3 separate regions of the Homo sapiens genome follow, and regions 2 and 3 are each linked to region 1. The links are contacts of gene promoters, found by promoter capture Hi-C in blood cells and fetal thymus (Javierre and others, 2016). All regions are on one chromosome and are shown on one strand. Each heading gives the region's core, a stretch centred on a gene start or on the middle of the fragment in contact. The rest is flanking DNA. Distances are from core to core; before and after follow the strand shown. Region 1 holds the start of MTOR-AS1 (MTOR antisense RNA 1). Region 2 has its middle 12 kb from the start of FBXO2. Region 3 has its middle 11 kb from the start of LINC01647.

Region 1 (5,143 bases), core at 1,297-3,796:
ATCTGCCTGCCTCAGCCTCCCAATGTGCTGGGATTACAGGTGGGATCGTTCTTGTCTCCCAGGCTGGAGTGCAGTGGCTCGGTCTCGGCTCACTGCAACCTCTGCCTCCAAGGTTCAAGCGATTCTTCTGCCTCAGCCTCCTGAGTAGCTGGAACTACAGGTGTGTGCCACCATGCCTGGCTAATTTTTGTATTTTTAGTAGATACGGGGTTTTGCTATGTTGGCCAGCCTGGTCTTGAACTCCTGACCTCAAGCAATCCACCCACCTCGGCCTCCTAAAGGGCTGGGATTACAGGCATGAGCCACTGTGCCTGGCCACAAATTCTTTATAATTAAAAAAAAAAAAGAAAAAAGGCGGGGCACGGTGGCTCATGCCTGTAATCCCAGCACTTTGGGAGGCTGAGGTGGGGGGATCACAAGGTCAGGAGATCGAGATCATCCTGGCTAATACGGTGAAACCCCGTCTCTACTAAAAAATAAAAAAAATAATAAAAAAAAAATTAGCCAGGCGTGGTGGTGGGCGCCTGTAGTCCCAGCTACTCAGGAGGCTGAGGCAGAAGAATGGCGTGAACTTGGGAGGCGGAGCTTGCAGTAAGCCGAGATCGTGCCACTGCACTCCAGACTGGGGGACTCAGCGAGACTCCGTCTCAAAAATAAATAAATAAATAAATAAATAAAATAAAATAATAAAAAAGTGAATTAATTATCAAAGGGGCTTAAGCTAATTTTACATCTAACAACTATAGAGAGTCAGGTTGGGGACGGCTGCCTAAGGGTATTTCACTCACAGTACCCTTAACCTGAGATTCTATCAGCAAATCTCCGTTGTGTTTCACAGTGGATTTGGCTGTGGCTTGCAGGGAAGTTAAAATGTATCAGAAGGCCAGGCATGGTGGCTCATGCCTGTAATCCCAGAACTTTGGGAGCAGAAGCAGGCAGAACTCCTTTTTTTTTGGAGATGGAGTATCATTCTGTCCCTCAGGCTGGAGTGCAGTGGCGCAATCTTGGCTCACTGCAACCTCTGCCTCCCAGGTCCAAGCGATTCTCCTGCCTCAGCCTCCCAAGGAGCTGGGATTACAGGTGTGCGCCACCACGCCTGGCTAATTTTTGTATTTTTTTCTTTTAGCAGAGAGGGGGTTTCTCTATGTTGGCCAGGCTAAGTCTCAAACTCCTGACCTCAAGCAATCCACCTGCCTCAGCCTCCCAAAGTGCTGGGATTACAGGTGTGAGCCACCATGCCTGGCCAAGTGAACTCCTTTTTCATCCTTGTTGATAAGAAGTCAGACTCAGAAGGGGAGTTCCTGAGATCTACTGCTTCATGGTAAATTCCATGAACCCATGGAGCTGTCCTCCATGGAGATAAACTTAAAAGTCTAGCGACAATGATCTCAGGCTTTTAGCTATGATAAGATGCAGTCTGAGCCTGACTGGAGAACCCAAGGCTAGAAGAGACCCAGCGCCAGTAAGGCTGACCTCTCTAACTGCCCTATGGGAGGGTCTTAGGAACCAAAAGCATTGGTGCAACTCCAAAGAAAAGTAACAAACATGTATTTTTCCACTACTATAATACTGGTTGGGGATTTTAATTTAAATGATTTGACCACAAAATGGCAGTTTTCTAGCCCCAGCAGTTCATTTGACAGCAAGCCATCCACAAGAGCCAAATTTCCACTATAAATGTAATGCTTTACTTTCAGGCCTTGGACCACATTTTTCCATCCCATGAAGTGTGACAACAATGATTTCGAAAGTTAAAATAACAGAAAAAAGTACACTGAGTGATTGTTTTTTGTGACTTCTCACCAATAGTTAGGTTCTCCCAGATGCTGAAATAATTTGGCCTCCTGTAAGCCAAAAAGCATCTTGCTGCCTCAAGATAGGAAAGTCACGAAGGCTTAAGGTGGTGGCAGTGTCCTGGACCCAGTAAAGTCAGACAGGCATCTCTCTTCCCAGGACTCATTCCATGCCTCCCCTCTCCTCTAAGTCTACATTTGGATCAAGTCCCACTTGTCAGACTGTCAGAAGGTTCATCAGATCTCTGCTGTAGAAACTCTTTATTATAGGCATTTCAAAGAATTGGGGTGTGTACAAATCAAGTGGGAAATGCTTATTTGTGGAATTCTTTCTGGTGCCCAGGAGACAATTTTCCATCAAAACATTCACTGGGCATTTCATAATTACTAATAAAACATGTAAAAGAACTGTATGTGCTCATTTCAGAGCCATAAATGACTGTATTCATAGATGTTCCTTTGCCCATTGCTCTTTCCTGTCCAGGGGAATGTGCCCTGAGCTTCCTAGGCAGGAATGTGTTTGGAGTCAAAAGGTTTTGTCGCAGCCTACTGAGACGCCTGGAAGCACAAACTTCGATTGGTCTGAAGCGAGAATTTGGAATTAGCAATTAGGTGGGGATCTAGTTGAGAGGAAATGGTTTATAATTGCGGGGATGGATTATGATAGGTAGGGAGACAAATGGTTTCTGGAGTGGTAAAGGCTTTCTCTCTTTTTTCTTTTGCTGATGAACTTCCTATCCTACCCACTCAAGGAATGGGATAACTGGCCATCCTTCCCAGAACATTTAGACTCCTGACTCCCAGACCTGGAGTGACAGTTTCTCATGTTAAAATGATCAGAATGTGAGAATGAAAACACTGATGGAGGACTTGGGAAAGCTTCTTCTCTACAAGCGGAAACTGCAGTGGAAAAAAAGTCTCAATAGAGGCGACAGGATGACTCTGACCTAAGTAGCTATAAATAGCAGGAGTTGGCCAATGAGAACCTAAGGCAACCCCATCTGAAAAGCTGGTGCAGGTGGCCTCCAAGTGTAGTTAGAGCAGTGGTTCTTAGCTTTGGCTGGTGGAATCATCTGGGGGAACCTGAAAAGATACTGATCCTGAGTCTCTCCCCAGAAATTTAATTGGCCTGGGGAATAGCCTGGGCATCAGGATTTTAAAAAGCTCTGCAGGTGATTCTACTGTGCTGCTAAGGTTGAGAACCACTGATTTTGAGGTTATGATTCCTAACTGACTGGTCACAGGTGTCACTTACTAAAAAACATTTTTTTTAATTCCTAGAGAAGAGAATAAGAAGAGACTGGAAAATTGGTCATTCTCTCACAGCTTAAGTTTAGGTGAGGAGCCTTTGAGTATTCTGCTTTGTATGCAAGCCAAGCAATACACTGGTGGAGGAGGCAGGAAAAGCAAGTTGAGTAAGAGCCAGGGTGGAGGGGGGCACTCACCCAGGTCCTGGAAGGGGTAGGGGTAGGTGGGTGAACTGGGGCTTTCTACCAAGCTCACCTGCAGTCTCTCCCACCAGATCTGGCGGATGATCTCTCGTCGCTCGGGGACAAGTTTGTACTGGATAACCTCCTCCAGCTCGGACAGCATGTGGCAAGAAACCATGGCCTGATGGAAGCAAATCGCATTCCAAACTAATTACTGCACGAACAATCCAAAAGACAGGATTAATTTAAATCATTCCTTCTGGTGTCAGGGTATCTGCCGATCAGAGAAAACAGGCATGTTTCCAGCAGCCTGTAAGTTCTCAATAGCCCATTCTGAAAAAAGTATGGAAATAAGCCTCAAAAATGACAATGTGCAGAATAGTTGACACTTACCCCATATGCCCGACTGTAACTCTCTCCTGCCATCGCAGTTAATTCAGCATCCAGCAGGTCCCTGGCCTTGTCAATGCACTAGAAGAGAAACAACCCTTGGGACTGAGCTCTGGACTTGGGAGCTTAGGGTTATTTTAGGGCACCCCAACTAGCTACAGAAGTTATCTGTCTCACTTAAATTCCAGGGATGAAAAGAGAAATTCGCTGAAGAAGGGCATTTTCCCAGAACTGAATGGCTTGAGAGGAGGTATTATCCAATTTCTCATCGAAGACAGAAATGTATGGCATCCAAAACTTTAACATCTATCTAAGGTAACACACAAAATCTTAGGTGGCAAGGGCATGGGAATGTGGGCTGTAAAACCGAATCATGGGTTCTTGCATCTCAAGAGGACATAACTGGGGATCTACCTTTTTTTTTTCTTCTGAGACACAGTCTCACTCTGTCACCCAGGCTGGAGTGCAGTGGTGTGATCTTGGCTCACTGCAGTCTCCACCTCCCGGGTTCAAGTGATTCTCTTGCCTCAGCCTCCCAAGTAGCTGGGATGCTGGGGTTACAGGCGCCCGCCACCACGCCCAGCTAATTTTTGTATTTTTAGTAGAGATAGGGTTTCTCCATGTTGGTTCAAGCGATTCTCTTGCCTCAGCCTCCCAAGTAGCTGGGATGCTGGGGTTACAGGCGCCCGCCACCACGCCCAGCTAATTTTTGTATTTTTAGTAGAGATAGGGTTTCACCATGTTGGGCAGGCTGGTCTTGAACTCCTGGTCTCAAGTGATCCGTCTGCCTCGGCCTCCCAAAGTGCTGCGATTACAGGTGTGAGCCACTGTGCCCAGCCTGGGGATCTACCCTCTTTTAACTTTTTCTTGCTGGGCATGTTTATGAAAATAGATTCTGCACACACTTCAATGGCTCCAGGTGGTAGCTCTGGCTTCCAAGCACCCTCTGTCCTTATGAGGGAGTGTCTCTAAAATTGGCAGAGATGCCCAATCCTGTCCACATGAACGGGAACTCTTGTGTCTCTGACAGAGACAACCAAGATCTTGGTTCTCATCACACAAATGACAGCCTGGGGGACGCCACAGCACTGCAGTTTGAGTTTCCTCTGTGCCATCAATTAAAAACCCCTCATGCAGAGCTTTTCCCGTTTTTGAATGTTTAAGGTTAATTATAGTGTCCCAATGCCTTAAGTGCTCAGATCATTTACCCGGGCACCTCATCTAAGTCTCGTGTCTGACAGGGTGGATGGGATTACTTCATTATTTCATTCTGCAAGTCAGCATACTATTTGCAAGTAAGTACTAGCTTCCTCGGAAGGTAATCAATGTGTGACATGCCTGCATGGCCAGAAGACCCTTGTGACTGATTTCTGCTGCACAGTGAGACTGCTGGCTCTCTGAATCCTACCTTTTGGTGAAATACAGCTTCTCTCTACAACAAGGGATACAATGATGACCCAACAAGCTAACTCCAAAAGCAACCGAGACAGTAGCTTCCAGAACACATTTGTCCCCCTCAGAACAATAAGT
Region 2 (5,143 bases), core at 1,696-4,195, 500 kb after region 1:
ACCCCATCTCTACTAAAAATACAAAAAACAGCCAGGTGTGGTGGTGCACACCTGTAATCCCAGCTACTTGGAGGCTGAGGCAGGTGAATCACCTGAATCTGGGAGGTGGAGGTTACAGTGAGCCAAGATCATGCCACTGCACTCCAGCCAGGGAAACAGAGTGAGATTTCGTCTCAAAAAAAAAAAAAAAAAAAAAAAGCTTAAGTGGTAAATCCTTCCACATATGAACCAAAGATCAATTCCTGAGGCTGAGTCTAAGTGTGTGATTTGTGGGACACAGAAAACTCCACCAATTCCAACTGAACCCGGAAGCCCACGGCCTCCACCACAATTCCTGTCTGCACAGAGGACTAGAATCCCTCCGCAAGAATCACTTCACCCAGGAAAGCCTGCAGGTGGTGACAGGGGGCGAGGAGAGGCAGCTCTGGAGGGGATTCCAGCCATGCAAAGCCCTTGCTGTGTGACCTGGGGCGAGAATGCACGTCTCTGGGCCTCAGTTTCATCTCAGCCTCTGAAATGGGAATAATAGCACACAGATGTGCTTGGAGGATTAAATAAAACCATACACAGGTGATGTTTTGAACACACCTATCACATGGTGAGTGCTCAGCGTGTGCTGAGATAGCATAGATTGTAAAACTGGACTTTGAGGCTACTTTTGCCATGCTCAGAAAATAAAAAAAAATAAAAAAAAATTAAAAAAAAAAACCTCATCAATCCGAGTAAATGAAGCAAACTTAGATCTGGATGGGAGGGTAGAGTTTTCTTCACAGTAGTAGTGAGGTAGGTGAGTTGCCAAGAATTACCAAGAAGAATTTCACAAATCACACACAATCCATTTACTTCTGGGAGTTATCAGGATGTGGGAGAGTCTGAAACGGAACTTACTGGACCAGAAATAGCATTTGATGAGCGTTTCATTCATCCGGCCAGCACACACTGAATGCCTTCCATGTGCACGAAGCAATGTGCAGATGAGGAAAGGGCTCAAGCTTTGGGGGCCATGGCGACAGAAGCCCCGTCCCAGCCAACTCTGCAGCCTACAGCTTGGTGACCTCGACCAAGGGCCCCACCTCTCTGAGCCTCGGTTTCCTCTTCAATAAATTTTGTGATGACAAAATAAAGCCTCCCGAGGAGGCTGCTGTAGGCAGTCGATGAGATAATGCAGCAGTAGACCAACAAATGTTGGTTCCCTCACCTTCTGGCAACGGCCCACAGCAGTCAGGCCACTCCATTCAGCTTCACTGTCTTGTTCCAAGAATCTAGTGGGTGCAGGAACTGGAGGCACATTAGTGCCTGGGAGTATCAAACCAGGTTGGCAGGTGAGGATCGTAGGTTCCATTTGTGTGGTTGAGGACAAGGGGCAAAGCCAGGTGAAGCCCAAGTGTTTCTGTCTCTAATTATTTTTATTTTTATTTTAGAGAAAATCTCACTGCCACCCAGGCTGGAGTGCAGTGGTGCGATCTCTGCTCACTGCAACCTCCATCTCCCAGGTTCAAGCGATTCTCATGCCTCAGCCTCCCAAGTAGCTGGGACTACAGGCGTGTGCCACCAGGCTCAGCTAATTGTTTTGTATTTTTGGTAGAGACGGGGTTTCACCATGTTGCCCAGGCTGGTCTGGAACTCCTGACCTCAAGCAATCCACCCGCCTCAGCCTCCCAAAGTGCTGGGATTACAGGCGTGAGCCACCGCGCCTGGCCATGTTTCTGTCTCTAAACCCAAGCTGTTAACACTGGACAAATGGCCTCCCTGATTCCTAGGAGAGGAAGGGAGGAAAAAAAGCAGAGTGGGGAGGAAGCCAGAGACCCCTGAATGCAGCTTCATTCATCAAAGGTGACCGCAGAAAGGCAGGGGAAGGTCCCAGGGGGCCTCGGATGGACATGGTCAGGGGAAGGTCCCAGGGGGCCTCGGATGGACATGGTCAGGTGGCTGGGAACTTCCACAGCGTTCCCCTCCACGCCTTAGAAACATCACCTCTGTGAGTGATTCCAAGCTCTTTGCACCCTCCTCCTTGGTGCCAGCCCCCTCCTTCATTCTGGCAGTTCTCCCTAACATCTACCTGCAATATTTCCTGCTGCATGACCAGCAGACCCCAGTGGCAACCCTAGCGAATGGCCCTCAGCCCTGTTCCATCCTGTCTGCAGAGCTCCTAGCAAGCAGCTCCTGGCTCCAGGCAGTAATCCTACTGACAATTAATTGGCTTTTGTTGGAGGAGAATGAATACCATCTCATCTTAATCTTCTTCATTATTCTCCTTGTTCAGCAGAGTCAACACAAGATTAGGTTTAATTTACGGTGGTGGGAAATAGCAAAGTCATTATGCACCAGGAACTCAGGATTGGATCTGTCTGGGTGTTCTGTGTTCACTGCAGGCCTGGCACCATCAAGCAAGGCCCAGGGCTCTGCCGAGGTGGAGATGGACTTGGGGGGGTTCTAGACTCCCAGACCTACTTGGAGCTAGATCCCAGGATACCACCAGCCCTCCCTAGTTGGGAGGGGCCCAGCTCTGGAGGGGAGTCCAGCCATCCAAAGCCCTTGCTATGTGGCCTGGGGTGAGACCCAGGGGCCTCCCAGGCCTTGGAGACCTAGCCTCCTAAATGTTTCTCATACAGCCTCTGGGGTCAGAGCAGCACCAAATCCCAGCCCCTGAAGAGCCAGGCTCAGCCCCAAACAATGGGAAGAGACCAGGACTTGGATTCAAATTCGACTTTTCCTCCGCAGAGAAATGGGCAGGACAGACACAGCTTGGGGACAGCCTTGACAATGCTGACACCTAGTGGTACTTGGAGGAACTGGCCCTTCCCTCCCTCTATGTGCACAATTGAATATACCATGTCCACAACTGAATACACCGCGTACACAAAAATCCAGATTTTTAAGGTAAAGAAACCAGAGGCCAGGTGCAGTGGCTCACGCCTGTAATCCCAACACTCTGGGAGGCCGAAGTGGGCGGACCACAAGGTCAAGAGTTCGAGACCAGCCTGACCAACACGGTGAAACCCCGTCTCCACTAAAAATACAAAAATTAGCTGGGCGTGGTGGCGCACGCCTGTAGTCCCAGCTACTTGGGAGGCTAAGGCAGGAGAATCATTTGAACCCGGGAGGTAGAGATGCAGTGAGCAGAGGTCGCGCCACTGCACTCCAGCCTGGCAACAGAGCGAGACTCCGTCTCAAAAAAAGAAAAAGAAATCAGAAAGGGGAAGAGGGACTTTTCCATTACCAAATTGTTAAACATATGTTTCCACTGAGAAATCTAAGAGGAAATTCATTTTACCTTCCCTGACCACTTAGCCAAAATAGCCCCCAAACACCTAGCATCCCTCCTACTGCCTGGGGTAATGGTACGCACAGACACTCTGGAGCCCAGTGTCCTCGTCATCTCCAACTCTTTCTGCTCTTCCTCACCTGGGAGCCCCCAGCTTCTGTCCTTGCTCTGTCCCCCAGCATGTGGCCCCTTCTGATTCTGTACCCCAGCAAAGTCATTAAAACTTAAGCTGGTGAGGCAGGAGAATCACTTGAACCTGGGAGGCGGAGGTTTCAGTGAACTGAGATTGCGCCATTGCACTCCAGCCTGGACGACAGAGCGAGACTCCATCTCAAAAAAAAAAAAAAAAAAAAACAGCAACACAACCCACAACTCCCCTCTTTCCCTCCTGCGGACTGAAAATGTTTGCTTGGCTCTGTGAAAATAATGTTAATTAAAAGTCTATATACACATATAAAATGTCAATTTAAAGAAAAAAAGACTTAAGCTGGAAAGCCAGCTTCAACTCCTTATTCATTGCATGACCCTGGCAAGCTACCCTGCATCTCTGAGTCTTAGCTCTTTTATCTAAGGGGGCCACTGCACAGATTAAATGAGCCTGTGCACTGAGCTCATGAACTGGCGCTCTAGGTCCTCAGCAAATGCCTGTCATCGCCATCATTGCTGCCATCAGCATCATCACCATCATCATCATCCTGATCATCCTGCTACTCTTGGGAAATTTGGTTTCATCAAACAAGATTGTCAGCAGCTGATGTCTAAACCCCCATCCCTAGCTCCTGCTGAACAGAGCAAAGGTTTTTCCTTAATGGAAACGATATCATATCTGCTTCCTAGAGCATTTATATCTTATAGGGCAGAGCACATAGTAGGTCCTCAGGAAACTCTCTGGGTCACCTTCCTACATCTCCAAGCTCACGTCAGATCACCTCCTCACTTGCTCACTGCTCCAGCCATGCTGGCTGCCTTTCTGACCTGTGAATAAGTTCATTCCCATGTCGGAGCCTTTGGCTGCCTCTGCAGTGCTCTTTCCCCAGAGCCGTATGGCTGGTTTCTCGTCATCATGTGATTCAAGTGTCACTTCCAGCCAGGCGCCGTGGCTCATGCCTGCAATCCCAACACTTTGGGAGGCCAAGGCAGGTGGATCACTTGAGGCCAGGAGTTCAAGACCAGCCTGGCCAACATGGTGAGACCCTGTCTCTATTAAAAAAAAAAAAAAATTAGCTGGGCATGGTGGTGCACGCCTGTAATCCCAGCTACTCGGGAGGCCGAGACACAAGAATCGCTTGAATGCGGAAAGTGGAGTTTGCAGTAAGCTGAGATAGCACCATTGCACTCCAGCCTGGGCAACAGAGTGAGACTCCATCTCAAAAAAAAAAAAAAAAAGTCACTTCTTCAGACAGGTCCTCCCTGATCACCCCAACCAAAGTAGCACTCCTGCCCTCACTCTCTACACTACAGAGGCCAAGTGCCTAAGTGGCTGAGTAGAATTCCAGTTCCCGCCTGGCGTGATGGCTCATGCCTGTAATCCTAGCGCTGTGGGAGGCCAAGTCAGGTGGATCACTTGAGGTCAGGAGTTCAAAACCAGTCTGACCAACATGGTAAAACCCCATCTCTATTAAAAATACAAAAAAAAGCTTAGCCAGGTGTGGTGGCGGGCGCCTGTAATCCCAGCTACTCGGGAGGCTGAGGCAGGAGAATTGCTTGAACCCGGGAGGCAGAGGTTGCAGTGAGCTGAGATCACGCCTCTGCACTCCAGCCTGGGAGACAAAGCAAGACTCCGTACCAAAAAAAAAAAAAAAAAAAAAAAAAAGAATTCCAGTTCCATCACTTCTTAGCAGTATGGCCTAAGGCAAGTTGCTTAATCTCTCTGTGCTT
Region 3 (5,143 bases), core at 1,017-3,516, 480 kb after region 1:
TTGCCAACTGTATGCAGGACACACCCTGTTAGCTTTAGGCTAGCAGAGCCAACAAGCCCAGATGCCTCAAAGAGCCAGTTCGTTCATTGTCCCTTTCAAGGGACCAGATTTCTTAGGCCGTAGTTCCCAAGCACCAGGTTGTGAACCAGCTACAACGGAATCACTCCTCAAAAATAATAGCTTCCAGGGTCCTGCTCCGAAGAGAGTGTGATCCAACTGGTCCTGGGGAGGGTCTAGGAATCTGTATTTTAACAGCCCTGTTCCCACCCACATCATCCTGGCAAGCAGGCTTCGGAACCTCTCTTTGCTCAGAGCAAGCACTTCACTCACAGAGGGTCAAACTTGGAGGCAGTTTAAAGACCTTCTAGTCTAGCCCACCCATTGTCCAGACAGGAACACTGAGGCTTAGGGGGCTTGTCCTGGGTCACAGAGTGACTCAGTGACAGTGCTATGACCCAAACCCCAGTGTCCCAACTCCTAGACCAGGAAGCTTGCCCTTCTGTTAAGACATTTTGGGAAGATGGCAAGAAAGTCCTTCCAGCTCAGGGCAGGAAGTCGTCCTTGGCACAGAGCAAGACCTTTGTGGAAAATTGGTGGATAGGAATGAAGAACATTGAATTGGGGGCAGATACTGCCTGTTTCTGCCTGTCTCTCCCCCATTCCATGAGGTCCTGGTAGGGCTTAGTCACAATGCTCTACAAAACATAGTCACGGGAACACACACACACTCATGCACATACAGACACACACAGACATACACACACACACACTTCGTGGGTGTGAGATCAGGCCAGGCTGCCCAGAATTCTAATCCCCCTGATCACACTGATTGGCTCAAGAATGAACACCATGGGTTGGGTGTGGTGGCTCACGCCTGTAATCCCAGAACTTTGGGAGGCCGAGACAGATGGATCATCTGAGGTCGGAAGTTTGAGACCAGCCTGGCCAATATGGTGAAACCCCGTCTCTACTAAAAATACAAAAATTAGCTTGGCATGGTAGCACGTGGCTGTAATCCCAGCTGCTCAGGAGGCTGAGGCAGGAGAATCGCTTGAACCCGGGGAGGCGGAGGTTGCAGTGAGCTAAGATCATACCACTGCAATCCACCCTGGGCGACAGAGCAAGACTCTGTTTCAAAAAAAAAAAAAAAAACACCTGACCCAAGAAGATCAATCAGAGATTTGACACCTGAACCCAGCAAGGAAGATCTCTCTTCCTTTTGGGTAATGAGTTATAGGGGTTCGGGGCTACCATTGGCCTTCTTCCCTAACACGTGGAGAAAGGCTTTGTGAGAACACCTGAAGGGACGCAGACTCCAGATACGCAAAACAGATGATGTCCTGACAATAGCATTTGGGCTCCTGGATCTAGCCTTTCCTGAAACTGGGAAACCCTGAGCACCCAGTTATGTGAGCCAATAAACTCACTTTTTGACTTAAGCTTGTTTAAGGTGGGGTTTTTGTCACTTGCAACCAAAACAGTGCTGACTAGGGTCCTGGGACACACCTGTTTGGGGGCAGAAAGTGGGAAGCAGAACATTTCATTGCCCTCAGCCCCTGTGACGGTCTAGGGAGGCCCTTGTCCATAAGGAAGGCATGGGATCTCGGGAGAAGCCACCTGAAGATCACAGGGGCATGTCCTGGACCGAGAGTCAAAACACCTGGGCTCTTTCACTCCCAAGCTGCGTGACCTTCGACCAGTCAACCAACCCCTCCTTTATCAAGCATGCCTTTTATTTTCTGTGTTCTGATACTTTGACATCTGGGGCTTTGTGACCCTGGAGGGTTAAGAGCTGGTAAATTCTTAGAGATAGTAACCAACTTGCCCATGAGCCCATTTGCTTTGAAAATGCAAACCAACCAATCCAGAGTCTATACCAGCAACTACCTCCTTTATTGGCTCTCACACTTTGGACCACTATCCACCTGCCCTGATCACTCCAGGGTCATCTACCAGACAACTAGGGGCAGCCCTTGTGGCCCAGAATGCACTGAAATTATTCAAACTAGCCAACCCTAAGCCGGCTTGCTCTGCCTCATTCGTTCCTTCTCATGGATACCACAATAAATGTTCTTGCCCACGATTTCCCCCTCCCTCTACCTCCTGACTGCCCCTATGTGCCCCCTCATGGCTGGACAAGCCCGCTCCTCTTGGGATCTGTGAGTGTAATAATCTGTCTTTTTTTTTTTTTTTTTTTTTTTGAGGCGGAGTTTTGCTCCTGTCACCCAGGCTGGAGTGCAATGGCGCAATCTCGGCTCACTGCAACCTCCGCCTCCCAGGTTCAAGCGATTCTCCTGCCCCAGCCTCCCAAGTAGCTGGGATTACAGGAGCCCGCCACCATGCCCAGCTAATTTTTGTATTTTTAGTAGGGACGGGGTTTCACCATGTTGGCTAGGCTGCTCTTGAACTCCTGACCTCACGTGATCTGCCCGCCTCAGCCTCCCAAAGTGCTGGGATTACAGGCGTGAGCCACTGTGCCTGGCCACAGACTGTCTTTTCAATGTCAGCTGTCTGCTAATCTGTTGACCTCACCATATCTGGAATCAGACGTGATTGTGTAAAAGCCTTGAAATTACAGAGGGCTCTGCAGATGAGAGAGGGTGCATTCAAACCCAAAGACAGTCCTTCTAGAACACTACCATTAGATTGCCTTTGGAGCAAGTAGAACTGGAATTATCATCCTACTCCTCAGATGGGTAAACTGAGGCACAGCAAGGTTAAATGCCTTGCCCTAAGACTTGCAGCTCGTTTTCCAAAGATCCAGAACTGGAAGTCAAGACAGAAGAAGGTATAATCCAGGCCAGCTGGGGTTAACCAAGGAGTGTGTCTTGGAGGAGGTAGACAGGCGCCCGCCACACACATGCACACCCTGTATGCACACACACCCATGCACACTGTCTCTTTCTGCCAGCCCTGGCTGAATTAAGAATGCATGTGCTGTAGAGGACCGGCTAGACAATTTTCCTGTCACTCCCGCTCCTAGTTTCTCCCACCTCGTCCTTGGACACAACTGGGAATCTCTTTAAGGCTCACAATTGGGCCCTTTCAACTGGCATTGGTTCCACGCCTCACCACGTGACTCCGCCTCTCCCCAAGCTTTTCAGTGGCCACTTTCTCAGCCCAACGAAGCCTGACAAATCCTTCCTGCAAACGTGCATGTCCCGGGCTCAGAATAACCTACCAAAAGAAAATAAAACCCCCATGAAGTGAGTCCAGGTGACTCAAAGCGTTCTGTTGGCAGCAGCATTTCCGGCGTCTGCTTTCTCTCTGGATCACAAACATTTCTCATCTGCTGGAGCCATTCAAGACAAGGCCACAGGCAGCCAAGGAAGCCCATGGCCCTGGAGACCCCAAACAACTGCACTGAAATGATTAGATGCTCCCCATCTTCCTGCCAGGAGTGTGTTGGGGGCCGGGGAAGGAAGACATCTGGTCTTTTGTACAAATAGAGAATAACAACAATCGTAGTAATTGTCAGTACAAAGTTATTGCCACTCACTATATGCCAGCCATTGTTCTGTTAATAGGCACTTTGCATTTCTTAGCTCATTTAGTCCTAACACCAAGTCACTAAGACAATTATTAATACTGTGCCCATTTTACAGTTGGGAACACTTGCAAAGACTGAATCCATCTGACAACCCGTGATCAACACCCTTACATGGCAATGATCAGTGGAGCAGAGAAATGGCTGCCCCTTTAGGTGGGACGCGCTGTTCCAATTTGCCACAGCCCCCACCAGTCCCTGTTATATTACACCCTGTCTGTCTCACCCATTTAAGTCACTTGCTCTGCACCTATGGGTGTCTGAGTTGTCAACCTCTACACTATGCTGCCTCCTCCCTCATACTTCCTTCACTCTCATCTCCTTCTTCAGGAATCAGGATTTGGGGCCTAAATCTGCAGAAAGCTCGACCCTTCCCTTTCCTACAGACTGACTCCTCCAGGAAGCCTTCCCTGCTTAATCACCAACGCTGCAAATGTCTAAGCTGAAAGGATTATTTGAGGTCATTTGGTTCTAACCCGTCAGTTACAGATGAGGATACTGAGGCCCAGAGAGCTAGGAATGCTGCTGTCTGCCTGGTCCTACGCCTAACGGTGATCAAGCCCTGTCCGCCAACAAGGTCAGCATGCCCCTTCCTACCTGTCGGGGAGGTAGGGCTGGGGTTGTTCCCGTGCCCATTTTATGGATGAAGGAACTGAGGCAAGATGCTGGGTCTCTCTTTGCAATGTCTGAGGCTGCTCTCACTTCCGAGGGCTCCCTGACCACGGGCCAAGGCTGTTTGGCCCTCCCAGTATTCCTGATGCTTCCATCAGTCCCTGAGCTCTAGAACCAGGTCTGAGCCCCCTCACCTTTGCCTGGGCACAGGGCCTCAAGGAGCCCTAGCTTTGTGCTGCACCTAAGCCTCCTTGTCTGATATTCTGGCCCTTCGTTCCACCTCCTGCATTTCACATCTGGCCCAGCTACACTGTCCTTCCAGGGGTAGGTGGAGCCTGTATTCTGCTTATTTCCCAACAGAAGAAAGAGCATCCCAGAGAGGCTAAATGTGACCTAAGGTCACACAGGGACTCCTGGCAAAGCTGGCAGCAGCACCTGACCCCAACCCCTGTCTTACCATGTTTTTCTCTCCACTCTGTGACCCATTCTCTCTGCTCAGGCCTCCCTCTGGGGACCCCGACCATCTGGAAGACATTCCTTTTTCTGAGTGGGCAGTAGAGTCTTAGACCCACCCCAGACAGTCATTTTTGTGGAACCTTTGATACACACACCCTGGCAGGACCCTTAGGGTCCCCTCCCTCCTACTTCCAGGACCTGCCTATCTCTGGATAACCCAAGACTGTCTGTACAGCTGTGCAGGTTGCACACTGCTCGCCCAGCACAGCCACTTACTACAGTCCTAATTGTCACTCACTAGGCATCCCCACACATCCTGCACAGTACAGCTGCCAAATGCAGGAAGGGTTGCAGCAGCCTGCCACTCCCGGGCACCAGTGAGCTTCTCCTTCTCCACTCTGCACCTCCTAACCCTCCCACCACCACCTCTGAAGCAATCAGGAGGCCACCAGGACTGGCAGGAAAGGTCCCCTGAGTAGGGGAAATCTTGCTTGGCCATAATTAAACTCCACTGCTGTGCAGGCTGCA

What was found. Contacts are between HindIII fragments. The CHiCAGO score rates a contact against its expected background, and 5 or more counts as called.
Region 2: a contact is called between a fragment that was not itself captured here and the fragment with the promoter of MTOR-AS1 in region 1, in 2 of 17 cell types (endothelial precursors and M2 macrophages). The highest score is 6.1, in endothelial precursors.
Region 3: a fragment that was not itself captured here is called in contact with the fragment with the promoter of MTOR-AS1 in region 1 in 1 of 17 cell types (naive B cells); the score reaches 6.3 in naive B cells.

Annotation. Positions count from the first base shown.
Region 1 is chr1:11,141,352-11,146,494 of GRCh38, forward strand. MTOR-AS1 (MTOR antisense RNA 1) reads left to right here and starts at 2,547. Exons shown (of 4, transcript NR_046600.1): 1 at 2,547-2,636; 2 at 3,316-3,535; 3 at 3,802-3,928. MTOR (mechanistic target of rapamycin kinase) reads right to left here. Exons shown (of 58, transcript NM_004958.4): 33 at 3,617-3,694; 34 at 3,297-3,404. The HindIII fragment of the contact is 11,786 bases long and covers 1-2,670 here.
Region 2 is chr1:11,639,835-11,644,977 of GRCh38, forward strand. No RefSeq gene overlaps it. Among named protein-coding and RNA genes, the nearest start is that of FBXO2, 12 kb to the right of the region's middle. The HindIII fragment of the contact is 3,910 bases long and covers 991-4,900 here.
Region 3 is chr1:11,617,539-11,622,681 of GRCh38, forward strand. No RefSeq gene overlaps it. Among named protein-coding and RNA genes, the nearest start is that of LINC01647, 11 kb to the left of the region's middle. The HindIII fragment of the contact is 1,656 bases long and covers 1,439-3,094 here.